Regions from separate parts of the Homo sapiens genome. Here regions 2, 3 and 4 are each linked to region 1. Evidence: promoter capture Hi-C in 16 types of primary human blood cells and fetal thymus (Javierre and others, 2016). All regions are on one chromosome and are shown on one strand. The core of a region is centred on a gene start or on the middle of the fragment in contact, and the rest is flanking DNA. Distances in the headings are between cores, read along the strand shown.

The links. The method cuts DNA at HindIII sites, captures the fragments that hold promoters and counts their contacts. A CHiCAGO score of 5 or more calls a contact.
Region 2: a contact is called between the fragment with the promoter of HOXD8 here and the fragment with the promoter of DLX2 in region 1, in 4 of 17 cell types (total B cells, naive B cells, naive CD8 T cells and 1 more). The highest score is 26.1, in total B cells.
Region 3: the fragment with the promoter of HOXD11 here is called in contact with the fragment with the promoter of DLX2 in region 1 in 7 of 17 cell types (total B cells, naive B cells, total CD4 T cells and 4 more); the score reaches 126.0 in total B cells.
Region 4: the fragment with the promoter of EVX2 here is called in contact with the fragment with the promoter of DLX2 in region 1 in 2 of 17 cell types (total B cells and naive B cells); the score reaches 35.4 in total B cells.

The regions. Positions count from the first base shown.
Region 1 is chr2:172,101,088-172,104,810 of GRCh38, reverse strand. DLX2 (distal-less homeobox 2) reads left to right here and starts at 1,911. Exons shown (of 3, transcript NM_004405.4): 1 at 1,911-2,672; 2 at 3,165-3,349. The coding sequence starts at 2,273. DLX2-DT (DLX2 divergent transcript) reads right to left here and starts at 1,805. Exons shown (of 5, transcript NR_126376.1): 1 at 1,543-1,805; 2 at 779-873. RefSeq lists a silencer at 1,910-2,109. The HindIII fragment of the contact is 7,057 bases long and covers 1-3,495 here.
Region 2 is chr2:176,127,613-176,131,335 of GRCh38, reverse strand. HOXD8 (homeobox D8) reads right to left here and starts at 1,631. Exons shown (of 2, transcript NM_019558.4): 1 at 393-1,631; 2 at 1-19. The coding sequence starts at 969. It overlaps LOC100129455 (a long non-coding RNA gene), which reads left to right and starts at 808. Exons shown (of 1, transcript NR_187615.1): 1 at 808-3,511. The HindIII fragment of the contact is 7,912 bases long and covers 1-3,723 here.
Region 3 is chr2:176,105,073-176,108,795 of GRCh38, reverse strand. HOXD11 (homeobox D11) reads right to left here and starts at 1,516. Exons shown (of 2, transcript NM_021192.3): 1 at 660-1,516. The coding sequence starts at 1,440. RefSeq lists an enhancer at 3,660-3,723. The HindIII fragment of the contact is 7,005 bases long and covers 1-3,723 here.
Region 4 is chr2:176,082,126-176,085,848 of GRCh38, reverse strand. It overlaps EVX2 (even-skipped homeobox 2), which reads left to right and starts at 1,887. Exons shown (of 3, transcript NM_001080458.2): 1 at 1,887-2,499; 2 at 3,400-3,671. The coding sequence starts at 2,073. RefSeq lists enhancers at 1-62, 2,513-3,128. The HindIII fragment of the contact is 15,744 bases long and covers 1-3,723 here.

The DNA.
Region 1 (3,723 bases), core at 662-3,161:
CAAAACACCAAAAGGCGGGCAGATCACGAGGTCAGGAATTCGAGACCAGCCTGACCAACATGGTGAAACCCCATCTCTACTAAAAATACGAAAATTAGCCGGGAGTGGTGGCGCGCGCCTGTAATCCCAGCTACTTACGAGGCTGAGGCAGGAGAATCGCTTGAACCCAGGAGGTGGAGGTTGCAGTGAGCCAAGATGGCGCCACTGCACTCCAGCCTGGGTGACAGAGTGAGACTCCGTCTCAAAAAAACAAAAACAAACAAAAAAACACCAAAAGGCAATCATGTTTCAATATCAAGAGGTTGGTTTTGCAGCTGAGGCCCACAAAGTAGGCAGAGAACCGCATAAAGCAATGCAGGTGGGTGGAGGTGAGCTCCACCTCCAACGTTTCTCATAAGCTGGCGCTTTCCATCTAGGGGCCTTCCTTAACCAAAAAAAAGCTGGGAACTAAATCCAGGTAGACTTAAAGGCGCATTACCTATCTCATTATTTCTCTGTGTGAATGCTGGAGTTTTAATTACACACTTGCTTTTTATGGGGAAGAAGACCAAAGATCATATTTTTGAAGGTATCAACTTGTTTTCTATCAGACAGTTGTTTTAACAAGTTCTTTCAGCGACATGTTATGTCTTTAGGAAAGGGTGCTTCAGATGGTGCGCACTAGCACAATTTTGTGGCTTTTAATTACTATTTTGTTCTTTTGGGGGGTTTCAGAGGCTGGCGCCTGGGCGTGATTAGACCGTCTACCCCGCCCCCCGCAACCTCGCACACTGCCCACCAGGTGGCGCCACAAAGCAAGCGCTGCCGCAGGAACTTCGGACTTGGGAGTCCAGCAAGTCGTGCAGTCCATCACCGTCGGGCCAAGGTTTCCAACTACAAGGTTATAGAGACAGAGGAAGTCACCATTTCCGATTTTTTAAAAAACAGAGGGAAAAGAAAAAAATTGCAATGATAGGGTAGAACAGGGTCCTAAAATGCAAAACTGTAAAACAGGATTAAATTCAACAAACCAGATAAAACTTTTTATATTTGTTGTAAATTTACAGAGAAGTGATAAATCTAGTATCTACTTGATAAATCTATAATCTCACCTATTATCCTATTTCCTTTTTCGCAAGAGCATCGAATTTTCAAGGACAACTGGTGAACCTTTCCACCCGAAGGAGGAAGTCCTCGGGATGGCTTTCAGGGTGTCATTTACTTATCAAACGTATATAATTACTCAGAGTCTCGCGTGTCGGGAAAGTACCAGGGAAAGTGGTTTCAAATATACTATTAGCAATAATACCTTTAAGTTTATGTAGCTTCTCTTTGAAGCAACAAGGAAAACCCGTTTCAATATTATATGATTAATTGTCCTAATATCCCTGCGGATTGGTTAAGAAGCGAGCATTACACGTGGTTTGTGGATAATTAAATCAATTGATTATGTCAAGTGCCGAGTGGCTAACAAGAATAAATGCCAGACACTTCGAGGAAAAGTGAAGATAGAGCTGGCTGGACTCTGGGCACCGATGTACTTTAATGTGTTTGAAAACTGACCTCGGACATGAAAGTACGAATCACTGGAACTGGCACTTGCTCACAGAATGGGAGAGGGGACCCCACTTCTTCCTCTGAGGCAAAACGCCAGTCTGTCTCCACGCCTTCTGTCTTCCTGCTGCGGGCCACCCTGACTCCTCGCTACCTCGACCCCTCGCCTCGCTGCTCACATTCGGCGGCAGTCTGTTTGCACCTGGGGCCGCTGCAGCCGCAGCCGCAGCCACAGCGCCCACCATGTGACGCCCGCCCCTTGGCCGGGCGTTCCCGGAGCTCCGCGGCCGTTTGCTTCTGATTGGCTGTTGCTAGGTGACGTCGCCAGCGCTCACGTGACGAGTGTTAAATGCCCACACTTCAGGAGCCCGCCTGGCAGACAATCGTAAAGCCGCTCGGGGCCGCTCACCTGCTCCCGCCTCCCAGAGCCCCGACCCGGCCCAGCCACCCCTGCCCCCTCCACTGCCCGCCCCCCGCCAGAGCCCGCGCTCGCGCTGGGCAAGGAGCCGAGCGGGCCCAGAGGCCGAAAGAGGATGCGACCAGAGGCAGCTGTCCCGAGCAGCGCACGGTGATCGCCTCCCCCGGAGGAGGAGGCGCCTAGACGGTTGCCTCCTTTCTTGTTTCCCCACCACCACCCCCGTAATTACATTGGCTGCTGGAGGGGACCGGGAGAGACAGAGGAGGCGCCTGGCTTCCCCCGCACGCCCGCCACCTCTGCTCTTTCCCGTCTCGGGCCAGGATGACTGGAGTCTTTGACAGTCTAGTGGCTGATATGCACTCGACCCAGATCGCCGCCTCCAGCACGTACCACCAGCACCAGCAGCCCCCGAGCGGCGGCGGCGCCGGCCCGGGTGGCAACAGCAGCAGCAGCAGCAGCCTCCACAAGCCCCAGGAGTCGCCCACCCTTCCGGTGTCCACCGCCACCGACAGCAGCTACTACACCAACCAGCAGCACCCGGCGGGCGGCGGCGGCGGCGGGGGCTCGCCCTACGCGCACATGGGTTCCTACCAGTACCAAGCCAGCGGCCTCAACAACGTCCCTTACTCCGCCAAGAGCAGCTATGACCTGGGCTACACCGCCGCCTACACCTCCTACGCTCCCTATGGAACCAGTTCGTCCCCAGCCAACAACGAGCCTGGTATGCATAACGCTGAAGTCAAGAGTGCCGAGTCGGTCTAGTTAATGGGATGGATGGGTAAACGTGTTTGGGGCGGGGGGCCTTCGAAAGCTCTGGATTTTCACGCTGCCTGCTCACCGCCCGCTTGTGCCCTTTACCCTCCCCAGCCTCCAATCTGCCGCAGGTCGCCGGTTACGTCCCTCTCTCCTTTGGTAGGACCTGGTGGCCTCAAGAGCCAAGTGGGCGTGCTCTGCCTGCCTCATAAGGGCATCTCCTTGCCACCAGCTTCTTTCTCTTGGGTGTGCACTTGTCTCCCCCTTCCCTGGAGGGTACAGCTCCCGGGGTCGGTGGCGGCTCCGATCGCACGCTGCGAAGTTGCGCCTGCCCGTGGCGCCACAGTTCAGTGCACCCACCTCTTTGCTCAAGCCAAGTCCCCCCCGCCGGGCCCTCTAGGAGGGCGGGAACTCCAGGACCCCTGGGTTGCGCTGTTCTTACGATTCTTTATCGTTGCAGAGAAGGAGGACCTTGAGCCTGAAATTCGGATAGTGAACGGGAAGCCAAAGAAAGTCCGGAAACCCCGCACCATCTACTCCAGTTTCCAGCTGGCGGCTCTTCAGCGGCGTTTCCAAAAGACTCAATACTTGGCCTTGCCGGAGCGAGCCGAGCTGGCGGCCTCTCTGGGCCTCACCCAGACTCAGGTGGGGCTCGCGCCCTGCAGGGGCGAGGAGAGCGCGGGCCTGAGATGGCTGGGAAGCAGGCGGGTTTAGGACAATGCTTTTTAAAGTTCATTTTAAGTACTTTTAAGGATTTCCAGGCCTGCGCCTCGAGCGGCCCTAAGTAAGCTTCTAGGCCCAAAGCTGGAAACCCCCAAGGGGCCGCCGTGGGAGGGAAGGAAAGGGACCGGGTGGACAGAAATCCCGTACCTCTCGCTACTGATTAAGCGGGTGAAATAACTGGCCCTCCTCACCCTCCCGCTGTCACCATCATCACAGTGCACGTACACCAGCAGTCCTGGCCTTTTGGCAATTACCTCCCCAGGGAGCAGGAACCGGCAGAGCCTCGAAGGCCGCCG
Region 2 (3,723 bases), core at 382-2,881, 4.0 Mb before region 1:
CTTCGTCTACCAGGAGCTGCTGATTAAAACAAAAAAAAAGGGGGGGGGAATAAAAGTTTTAAAAATGTTATGGTACCTCTGCATGTTGCTGGAGGTTTGTGGAACGGGGGTCTACGGGGTGAAATATACACAGAGCTCTTTAGCTCCGATATATATATATAGGGTGTGCAGGCAAGAGGAGCAGAGAGGTCTTCACAATTATTCTGTCCCCATCATCTTTACATGGTTCCTACTTTTTTAAAAAAAGTCTGTATTACTTTATGAATAAGAGCCACTGTGGCTACACAAGAAGGAAAAGGAGGGGGAGAGGGAACGGGAGTTTTAAAGCCAGAACGTGAGATGAAAGCAGATTTCTCCCCCTCTCCCTTCTTAAAAAAAAAATGCATCCCAACCTTGTGGTCTCATCCACGGAAACATTTGAGAAGGAGACGAGCTCTGATTTAAGTGGTCTGGGTCCTCGCCAATATTACCACTGGACGATTTACAGTCAGGATATTGTACCAGCTCGGCCTCTTGCTGGGTCGTAAAAATCGGCTGTCTCTGTAAGTTATCGTATCCGTAAAACTTCGCGGGCTCCCCGTGACAGGCAATCCCGCCGCAGGGGGGAGGTGGCGGCGGAGGCGGAGGATGCGGAGGAGGAGGGGGGGCGGCCTGGTAGGCAGCGGCCGGGCTGCCCCCGCCGGGGTGGAAGTACTCCTGGCCCCGGCCTTCCCTACCGCCGCACCCAGTCCCGGAGGGCGGCGGGGACGGGTGCGGGTGCGCGTGCGCCTGCGGGGGCGCGTGCGGGAAGCCGGCGGCGCTGTTGCCATAGAGCTGCAGGGCTGCTGCGGCGGCGGCGTGACGGCCGCCGACCTCGGGCGCGAAGTGACAGTCGTAGTAAGTGGGATTGATGGCCTCGCCCGCCGCCGCCGCCGCCGCAGCCGCCGCCTTGTACTTGGAGTACAGCGGGTTCACGAAGTACGAACTCATTGGGGCGTCAGCGGCGGCGGCCCCGGGCGGGCGGGCGGCGCTAAGCAGCCAGAGAGCGAGCCTCGACTCGGCCGCACTGCCGCGGGGGCCTGTGGGGCGGCTGCTCTCGCCGCCGGGACCGCCGGGCTACGTCGCTGCTGCCGCCCGCCCGCGCTCGCGCGTCGCTTCTGAGGCCAGGCAGCCGCGGGCGCTCAGCTACTGGGCGCTCATGCCCGGCTCTTGCGCCCGCCGCCTCGGCTTCGCGCCGCCTCCCTCGCGGGTCGCGGGGCCTCGCCCAGCCCCCGCGCGCCGCCGCCCTCCCGGCCTTTCCCGGCGCGCCCCGGCTCGGCCGCAATATAATCGCCGACGCCCCAGGCGACCTGCCCCGCTGCCTCCACTGTTTCCTCTCAGGCACCAGTGACTGAGCGCACCCGGACAAGAAAAAAGTGCGCTCGGCCCACGGGGACACTCTGGCCTCGGTTTACAAACCCCGGCTCTGGAGGGAAAAGAAAAAAAACACCCTCTGCCCGCCGCCACCTCTTACCGCGCCCCCCCCGCGCCCCCCTCCCGCCAATCTCGCCCCCGCCGCCGAGGCTGCCGACCCGGTGCGCACCGGCGAGGCATTTTCGCACCACAGCACTGCACGGAAAGTCAGCGTGACGGGGACGAGGAGCCCCGCGGAGGGATCCGCGCGCAGTTCAGTCGCTACGGCCGACGGACGGAGCGCCGCGCCCGGCCCGAGATGCCTCCGCCGGCCTTAAAGGGGGCCCATAAAGACGCACTGCCAAGGGCTCCGTGTGCCCCGGGGCCGCGGGAATGCGGATCGCAGCCGGCAGGGAGGGGCCGCGGCGGAGCCTTAGACTTGGGGGAGCCAAGGAGGCCACTCCCAGGAGGCTGCGGAGCAAATGACTGCCTCCCCGAGCCCCTGGCTGCAAAAGCAGAGGTTGCCCGTGGCTTTTGCAGCTCTGGACACGCGGGTGCAGCCCAGGGAACGTGGACAAGAGGTGTTGACGGACCGGACCGTGCATTTGAGTTGGGGCATATCGAAGTGGTTTAATTAAAAGCCGCGAGTGTGGCCCCAGATCCTGGCGTTATCAAAGCAAATCAAAGCCTTTCTTTTCCAGCCGAGCGGGCCCTGTGGAAATGAGATGTACATTTACCCTTGACGCACCGCAAGCCTGGCCGAGGCTCTCAGGTTAATTGATATTTAATGGAAATCATGCCCATGAATATAGTTTCCATCATTTCACCCTTGATAGACGTCAGCCCTGGGCGCAGGGGGAGGCTGAAGAATGCAGGAGGGGGCATTAGGCTTGCTGAGAGAGTAAATAGAAGAGCGGACAGAAACGTTCTGAGGCGGGAAAAAGGGCTCGCGCTGGGGAGGGTGACATTTCCTCGGGCAGGACGCGGCTCCCGGGTCTCAGCCCCGGCGCGCAGCGAACCAGGGCCGGCTGCGGTTCCCGGAGGAGTGCGGAGGGCAGACGACCGCAAGTTCCCCCCAGGAGCCTCCCAGCCGGCGTTCAGATCGCGCCGGTTCCAGGCAGCTGCAGGCGGCCCATCTTATGCTAACGATCCTACTTCCTCCGCCAAGCCTGTGAAATTACTGCCGAGAGAGCGCGCAGGCCTCAAAGTTACGAATTTTTCCCAAAGCAGAGAAAGAGAAGGCTCAGCCTAGTTTGTGAGCAGAGATGAAGAAAAGTTGCCCGAGTCATGTGGCCCAGTCGAGTGTGAATCGACAAAATATTCCCGATTTTAGCAGCTCTCTCCAAAGCTGTCTGGCTTTACCCTACCAACCGCCTCCCCACACACTTCCTTTCCCTCTCTGCTCCCGTTTCAATGTCCAATAAATGCAATGGTTCTCTGTTGTGTGTGTGTGTTTTCCCCTCTCCTGCTCGGCCTTTCTCGTGGGCTCTTTGGGTGACTGAGCCCCGTTTCCTTCGGGATAGGTACAATGTCGTGAGGGCGCCAGGCCCACAGCCTTGGAAATAGACCTCCAAGGCGCCCCTGCTCAAGCTAAACGCACCACGCCGGCTTTCCACACCAAATGCAAATTTCCGAAAACCCCAGACGGCCTCAGAGATGCTGCAGGCTGGCGAGCGATTTCAGCTACCCCTAGCTCCTTGTGGGTTGGCCCAGCCTGCGAGCGCGATCCTGACTTGTGTCCGGGTGGACTGAAATATCATTTTTACAAATGGAGAAAATGAGATCGAGATGGACAGACATAGCAAGGTGATAATGTCCGACTCAATTATTTCTACTGGGAATGACTGAAAGGTAAAGGAATCGTTAATGAATCTGGAGATGACAGAGGCATGCTTTATTTAATTTTTAAATTAGTAAGGAGTGCAGACTTGGGGTGGTGGAGAGCAAGGGTTTTTTTGTTGTTGTTGCTGTTTGTTTTTGTGGGGTTTTTTTTCTGCTGGTTATTGCCAAGTATAATGACTTTCTTTAAATCCGAAGGCGAACGAATTGATTCTGACAATTAAGGATTTGTCCTTCAATCTTGCAAATGCCCAATTAAAAGATTATTATTGTCAATAAAGCCTTGGAGCTACCTTTGTAATTGTGCCCCTTTTTTTCAGTTTGGCGTGTGTGTGTGTGTGTGTGTGTGTGTGTGTGTGTGTTTGAACCCTGGATAAATGAGTGGATTTTGGAATGGAATGGGGGGGGGGAAAATGAAAGAGCCTGGATCTCAACAATACCAGGCATCTTGTAGAACTGTGTGATTCCTCGGGGGAATAAAAGAAAAATGAACACTAGAAAATTCATTTATAG
Region 3 (3,723 bases), core at 267-2,766, 4.0 Mb before region 1:
TCTCTGCCGCGGCCGAAAGGCCCTGCCTGCGTCGTGGGGGATGATATATGGGCGGGCACAGGAGAGAGTGCGGGCGTGGACATGTGTTCACGCCCGGACACACACACACACACACACACACACACACACACACACAGAGCCTGGCACGGAGGTGGGGAAGCAGAGGGCAAGGCAGGCTCTAAACTGGAACCTGAGGGAACAGAGACAAGAGCAGGCCCGCCGGGGCATCTGCTTGACTCCAGCGGCGCGCGTCAGCTAGCGGCTTGGATAAAGTCCAGTGCAAGGATCAAACTCCCCCCACTTCCCCACCCCCCGCCTCTCTCCCTTAAAAGCAGGAGGCTCCGGTGTATGCACTCACACTGGCTTGAAATCTCCCTCCCTCCCTCCCTCCATGGTATCTAGCAACCCCCTGCCCAAAACTGGGAAAAGGCTCTCGACAGCTATTAATGTCCTCCTCGAAGTCTACCTTAAGCCCACCTAAATTGGTTTCCTACCATAAACACACTTTACAACGGCCCAGGAAATCTTATAGGATGTATAAACCTCTTCGAATGCTTATAAAGTAGCACATAAAAAGGCGCAAGCAGAGGGAGGCCTCCGCCCCCCCCCCCTCCCCCGCGGCCCCCGGGCCCACCGCTTGCCCAGTACCCGGTGCCTACCTGCGCTGCTGCTCTTCTCGGCCCCCGCCTCTCCCGGGGGGCCCTCGCCGTCGCCACCGCTGCCTTCTGCTGCCCCCTTGGGCTCCGAGCCAGGGGTCGCCTTGGTGCAGGGACTGCCCCCGCCGCCACCAGCCCCGGTCCTGGGGTCGCCCTTGTCGGCTGCGCCCTCGGGCTGTGGCGGCGCGGGTGGCGGCGGGGGCTGCGGCCCGGCGAACGGGGGCCCGGGCGCTGCCTCGTAGAACTGGTCGAAGCCCTGTGGCAAGATGCCATTGCGGCCCACCGCGCTGTAGAAGTTGGAGGCGGCGCCCGCGGGGCCGTGCGGCGGCCCCGGCGCAGCGCACACCGGCTCAGGCGCCTTGAAGAGCACGTCCGGCCGGCGGCCCGCGGGCGGGAGAAGCTCGCGTTGCATGGCCGCCTCCTCGGCCGCCGCGGCCGCCGCAGCCGCCGCCGCCGCCGCCGCGTAGTAGGGAGCGTAGCCCCCCGCGCCGCCGCCGCCCCCGCCGGGGCCGCCCCCGCTGCTGCCGCCCCCCGCGCTGCCGCCGCCGCCGCCGCCGCGGTACGGCCACTTGGCGCGCTCCAGGCCGTAGTCGCGGAAGGCCACTTCGCGCACGGGCTGGACGTGCGGAGCCAGGTTGGAAGAGTAGGGGAAAGTCATCTGGCAGGACGACGGTTGGGAAAGGAACGAAGGCTTGCTAGCGAAGTCAGACGGGGCCACATAGTAGGCGCAGCCCGGCAGGTACATGCTGGCTGCGCTCTGGCCGCACTCGTCAAAGTCGTTCATGACTCCGCGGCGTGCGCGCCAGCGAGCCTCTGGCCGCTCCCCGCGCAGCCAACCTGAGCCATCGATTGCACAAGAGGCTTGGGCCAGGATCAACTAAGCAAAAATCCCCACCGGGCGCTGACGTGCAATTCATCTTGATTGATTCTGGTGGTAATTATGTCACGTGACGCCATGAAGAGAAATGTCCTTATATCTATATCAACGCTCGCCAACACGCCCCGGGACGGCTCCTGGCGCCGAGACGCGCGCGCTGGGGGCGGATCGGCTGCCCTCTGCCGCCAGCTCTCCCCGGGCGCTCCCTGACCAGGCTGCGCCTCAGGCCGGTCACCTGCGCGCCGCTGGCCGCTGTCACCGCTGGGCGCATCTGCCACCGCCCGAACGGGCCGCCCGCCCGCGTCCGCCCTCCCGCGCCGCTTTAAGTACGCGGACCGAGGCCGGCGGGGAGGAGGAAGGAGGGGGAAGAGGGGGAGGAAGGGGGAAGGGAGAGAAGCAGCGAGCAGAGGGGGGGAAGCCCCGGCTCCAGGCTCCCTAGAAGCTAGGAACTAGGTGTGAGGGTGTGAGGTTCCGAACCCCACCCCCCTTACTGCAGCCGCTCCCTCCCCCGCGACTCTGCCACCCTCTGCAGCTCACCCGCCTGGGAGCTTGTTGCTTCTTGTTCACCGGGCGGGAGTAATTTCGCCACTCTCCAGGGCGCAGGGAGCCCTGATTTACATATTTTTCTGCCCAGCGCGTTCAGAGTGGAGTGACTTGGCTCTTTCCGGTTCTGACCCCAAGGGTGCGAGTGCTGGCCTCGGAAAAACCCAGGCCATTCACCACCTAGGCACTCACCCAGGCCGGGGCCTTCGTGCCCACCCGGCTCTCTTCCCTTCTCTCTGGTTTCCCTCTCTGTTCTTGTCTCTCTTTCTCCTTGCCTCGTTTCTCTTCAGTCTTCTCCCTTCTCTCTCCTGTCTTCACTTCTCTCCTTCCTCTTCTTTTCCGCTTTCCTTCTTCCTTCCTCTTGCTTTCCTGTCTCCCTTCTCCTCTCTCTCTCTGTCCTCTCATCCTCTCCCCTCCTTTCCTCTAAGCTGTGTGTCACTGTCTCTGTCTCTCTCCCCGTTGCCTCTCTGCCTTCTCCTTCAGCACTGAAGCCAGGAGGGGGCTCAGCCCGTGGTCCCCAGCCTCCCTAGAATCTGGGGAGTCTGGTGAACAAAAGGATCTGGAGTCCTACTCTTAGGGTGCTTGGCTTCCCGCTGGCTCCCCACAAGAGACAACCCCCACACACTCGCACCTTCGTCCTCCTCACCCCTCTGCTTTCAGGCCTAGCCTGGGTGTCCGCCTTATACCTAGACCCTTCACTGCTTCGGAGCCCCGCCAAGGCCTGCGAATCCACGCCGCGTTTCCCCGAGGCTCTTCTGGTACCCTTGGGTCTGCATGGTCACTTCAGCCCCTCCCCCAAGATAGGTTGTCTCTCTAAGGGCTCTCAGCGGAGCCTGACTCCCTCCTGGAGCCCCTCTGTGTCACCTGGCTCTGAGGCAGACTCTTCGTGGGGCACCCCATCCACTCCCCCAAGGCCTCACTCTCCTCCCAGCCTGCCGCGACCCTCTCCTAGCCCATGGGTCCAGGCAAGGCCTGGGATCCCACCTCCGAGTGAGCAGACGCTTTTCAAAGGTAAACCGTCTCTTCCCAAACCCAAATCCCAGAACCGAGGGCAGGAGGCTGCCCCTTTCCCCAAGATTCCTCCGCCCAGGCAATCCCAGCGCTGGGGCCTGGGCCTCAGTCCTATACCCAGGGCAGGCGGCGCTGGCTGTGATGCTGGTTCCCTCCCTGGCCCGGGCTGCTGCAGTGCCGGTGCTGTGCGCTCTGCCCACCGTGCGGACAGACAGAGAAAAGGCGGGTGGTCTGAGCTAATATCTATTTTCTGGCTGATGTACCCCCCCTTCCTCTTTTTCTCCTCCCTCCCTTTCTCCCTTCCTCTCTCCTTCCTCCGCCCCTTCCCATGTCTTCTTCCCTCCCCCAACACTGCGCAAATAGGTCTGTGGCGACTGGAGGGCATCGAGCCTCCCCCAACTAGAACTGCCCATCTTGTGTGCTCCCTCCCCGCAGCTGGCACCCCCGCCCAGATTCCAGCTGACATTCTTCTCCTCAACCCAGACCCCCAGCACACTTATCTGCCTCCCCATCTCCATCCCAGGCCCAAGCCTCTCCCTTTCGGGCTCGTGGTCGACGCCCCTGGATCTCTCTCCTAAAATGGCTCCCTGGACGCTGCACACTGGCCCTGCGGTAGCTCAGGACCCAGGGCAGCTG
Region 4 (3,723 bases), core at 638-3,137, 4.0 Mb before region 1:
TTTTGGCATTGACTATATGTGTGTATATATGTATATAAATATACTTCACACCTCGCTTCCCCTTACATTCCTGATGCGCCCCCAACGGGTCTAAGGTTAAAAGGAAAGCGCCAAGAGCTATAGGCGAATAGATCTCGAGCTTGCCCCCTAACACACCCCAATGTTCTGGGTGTGTCGGCAGAAAGAAGAGGGGGCCCTGGTTGGGGTTCGGATTGAGGCTAAATGTGGGGATGCAGGACCCGCGCCCAGCGCCCAGATTGTCAGGGTCTCTCAGCCGCTTCAGAAGCTCACGGGCGGACCTCCGCGTCCCATCCCCGTCCTCCCTCGCCTCCGCCTGTGTCCGCGAATCTCTCTCCGGCTGGGCCGTTGGCGGGTGGGCACAGTGCTTGGAGGGTCAGGGAAGGGTGGGCGCAACCGCGGGAGATGAGGAGCGGCCTGGAGTGAAGATTGATCTTCGTTAAAATGGTTGCCACCGGCGTCATTATGACTATCAAAGTTGTCGCCAAGAGGCTCAGCCTCCAAGCCCAGGCCGCAGAGAGCTGCTGTAAGGCTGTTCGGCGACTCTCTGCGCCCGGACCCAACGCTGGGAATACCTGTGGCCGCAGGTAAGGGGCTGGGGTTGATGAGGGGAGGAAAGAGAGAAGGAAGAAAAGCAAAGGGGAAGGGAGGGCAGCGGGGAGGTAGGGGAAGAAGGCTGTCTCCTCTTTCCTCTTTTGACCTCGAAATCCAGCGCCTTTGCCGCAAATAATTCTATTTGAGGAGGGAGGGGAAAATCTGGCAACGTGAGCGTGGATTCGGAGCGCCCGTATGGCGCTGTAAATCTCCACTGTGTTTAAAGTTAGCTGTCGAATTCTGCTATCAAATCGTCCAGCCTAGTTCGTTTCCCCTCAGGAAAATGCGTAGGCGAGAAGGCTTTCTATCAGCAGGATTATAAAAGTAAAAAACCGGGGACTTCGAGTTCAGATCTCACTCTGCAGACGGTGTTAGAAAATCAGAGAGGACCTAATGATTTCCGTTTGGAGGCGCGGGCCCAATGCACCTCCGCGGCCACGTAGCAAGAAAGCGCTTTCAAAACTCTAGGATATTTCTATTTCTCTCTCTCTCTCTCTCTCTCTTTCTCTCACTCCGTCTCCCTCTCCCTTTCTCCCTCTCTCCCTCTCTCCCTCTCTTCCGCTCTCTCTCTCTCCCGGGGTGGGAGGAGAGCATTTAGGCTGAGGTGAAGAAATAGGGAGGGAAAGAACTCCGGCGTCCTATTTGTTAAATAAAATACATATTTGGTTCCGAAATCCGAAAGATAAGTAATCCAGATAGGAGAGGCGCAAGGTCTTCTCCTTACGCAACTCTTCCTGCATCCTCCCCCTTATCTCCCCCCACTTATGCCCCCAGCTTGTAAATGGTAAAAAAAAAAAAAAAAAAAAAAAAAAAAACCAAACCTTCCCGAGGACCTACTCTGGAAAGTCAAACCATTATCTATTATTTAATACGTATCTGTGTCCAAGGAAAAATGAAGAAGGCGCTGCATGATTAGGACCTAAGGGGCAACCTAGCAAACTGAGAGCGTAATGATGCCCCTAAATGAAGGGGGAAATGTGCCGCGGCGCGCTCTATTAATCAGACTGTCAATTTCACCCCCGAGGCCAAACCCCCGGGCGAGCAGAACTGGCTCGGAGCGGGCAAAGGACCGGAGCCTTCCTCCTCACTTGTCTCTTCTCGCCTCCTACCTGGATCTATTTGTCTGCTCTGAAGCTGCCTTCATTACCCACTGACAGGAGGGTGTATTTATTTGCTTATAAACCTGTTACAATAAATGATTATTCGAACAGCGTCATTCGTACCTTAATGACGAGCGGGCGCTACTTTTTGATGAATGACATCTCGGGATCGGAAGGATGTATGGGTCATTTTGACCAGTCATTCCCTCGCTCTGGCATCCCACAATTTTTCCGCCTCCCTCCGAAAGCGATAATAATATTTAGAGGCGTTCGCTGGGGCTGAATGAGAATTAGCCCTAGGCGCAGCCTATCATTAGGACGGGACAGCAGGGCCACTGTGACATTTTTAAGAAAGCTGAGATGATGGAAAGAATAAGAAAAGAGATGATTCTGATGGAGAGAGGGCTGCACAGCCCTACGGCGGGCAAGAGATTCTCCAATTTGTCCAACTCGGCTGGCAATGCTGTGCTCGAGGCCCTGGAAAATTCGCAGCACCCGGCTCGCCTAAGCCCGCGCCTGCCGTCTGCCCCCCTGCACAGCGCTCTGGGAGAACTCCCCGCCAAGGGCAAATTCGAAATAGACACTTTGTTCAACCTGCAGCACACGGGCAGCGAAAGCACCGTCTCCTCCGAAATCTCCTCCGCCGCCGAGAGCCGCAAGAAGCCGGGCCATTATTCAGAGGCGGCCGCTGAGGCCGACATGAGCAGCGACGTGGAGGTGGGCTGCTCCGCGCTTCGCTCCCCCGGGGGCCTCGGCGCCGCTCAGCTTAAGGAAAACAATGGCAAAGGTAACCGCGCCGGCCGCACCGCGCTCTCCAGTCCCATCCTCTTTGCTCCTCCGCGGCCCCCGCCAGCCTTTCCCGGTGCCTTTTCCCCTCTCAGACCCTCCACAGGCAAGCTACACCGAGCTAGCACGGGCGGGGGCGGGACGCATGTCTGGGACCGTGCCTTCCAGTTCTGCTCCTTGAGCTTTCCCGCCAGGCTCAGGCCTGCGGAGCCTGGAACACCAGGCCCACCCGCCCTCGCTCCTGAGTCCGAGAAAATGTTTCTGCGCTCGTGTCTAAGAGCCCGAGCGAGCCGGTAGACCCCTAGTCAGCAGCCGAGTTGCTTTTGGGAAAGGTACCCTGGGCAACTACTCTGAACTCCCCTGCCCCTGTGCCCTCAGGGCTGGAGGGGGCATTCTTCTGGGTAAGTCGGAGGAAGCCTCGCCGGCGTCTCTGTTTAGGTCAGCGGGAGAAAGAGTTGAAAAGTATATTTCACCCCCTATTGGCTTGGGTTTGAGCTACTGCTGTGTTGGAACTCTTAAAATATTTGAAACCCCGAAGACTCAGATAAAGGTTAGAGGCCGTATAAAAAGCTGCCCTGCGGTCTCCAGACCATGGGAAACCCAGAGCTTCCCAAACTGCGCCCAGAGGTAGGCATTTTCCCTCGGCCACTTTTCCTCCTTGGTTGAAAATTTCTAATTATTAAAAAAGAAATCTCCTAATTCCGTTTCTATTATTTGCTTATGAAGGGCTCCCCAAACTTTATTGATTCCATTAACGGCAGCAATTTGTAAGCATGACAGACCCCATCAATTCCGGCAGCGACTCTCCTTCCTGACGGGGCTTCCCCGATCCGCGCGCAGCGCCAGCGCCGGGCTGTTGGTCCTACAGCCACTCATGCGCTGTTGGTCGTTTGTTTGCCAGGGTACGCAGAGAGCGGCTCGGCTGCCGGCACCACGACGTCGGCGTCGGGCTCAGGCCTCGGAAGCCTGCATGGAGGCAGCGGAGGCAGCGGCGGGAGCGCGGCGCTGGGTGGCTCCGGCTCTGGCGCGGATCAAGTGCGGCGCTACCGTACGGCGTTCACCCGCGAGCAGATCGCGCGCCTGGAGAAGGAGTTCTACCGGGAGAACTATGTGTCGCGGCCCCGCCGGTGCGAGCTGGCCGCGGCACTCAACCTGCCCGAAACCACCATCAAGGTATCAATTCCAGTGCATGCCTGCTCTGGCCTCCCCGGGGGCATCTGGGTTG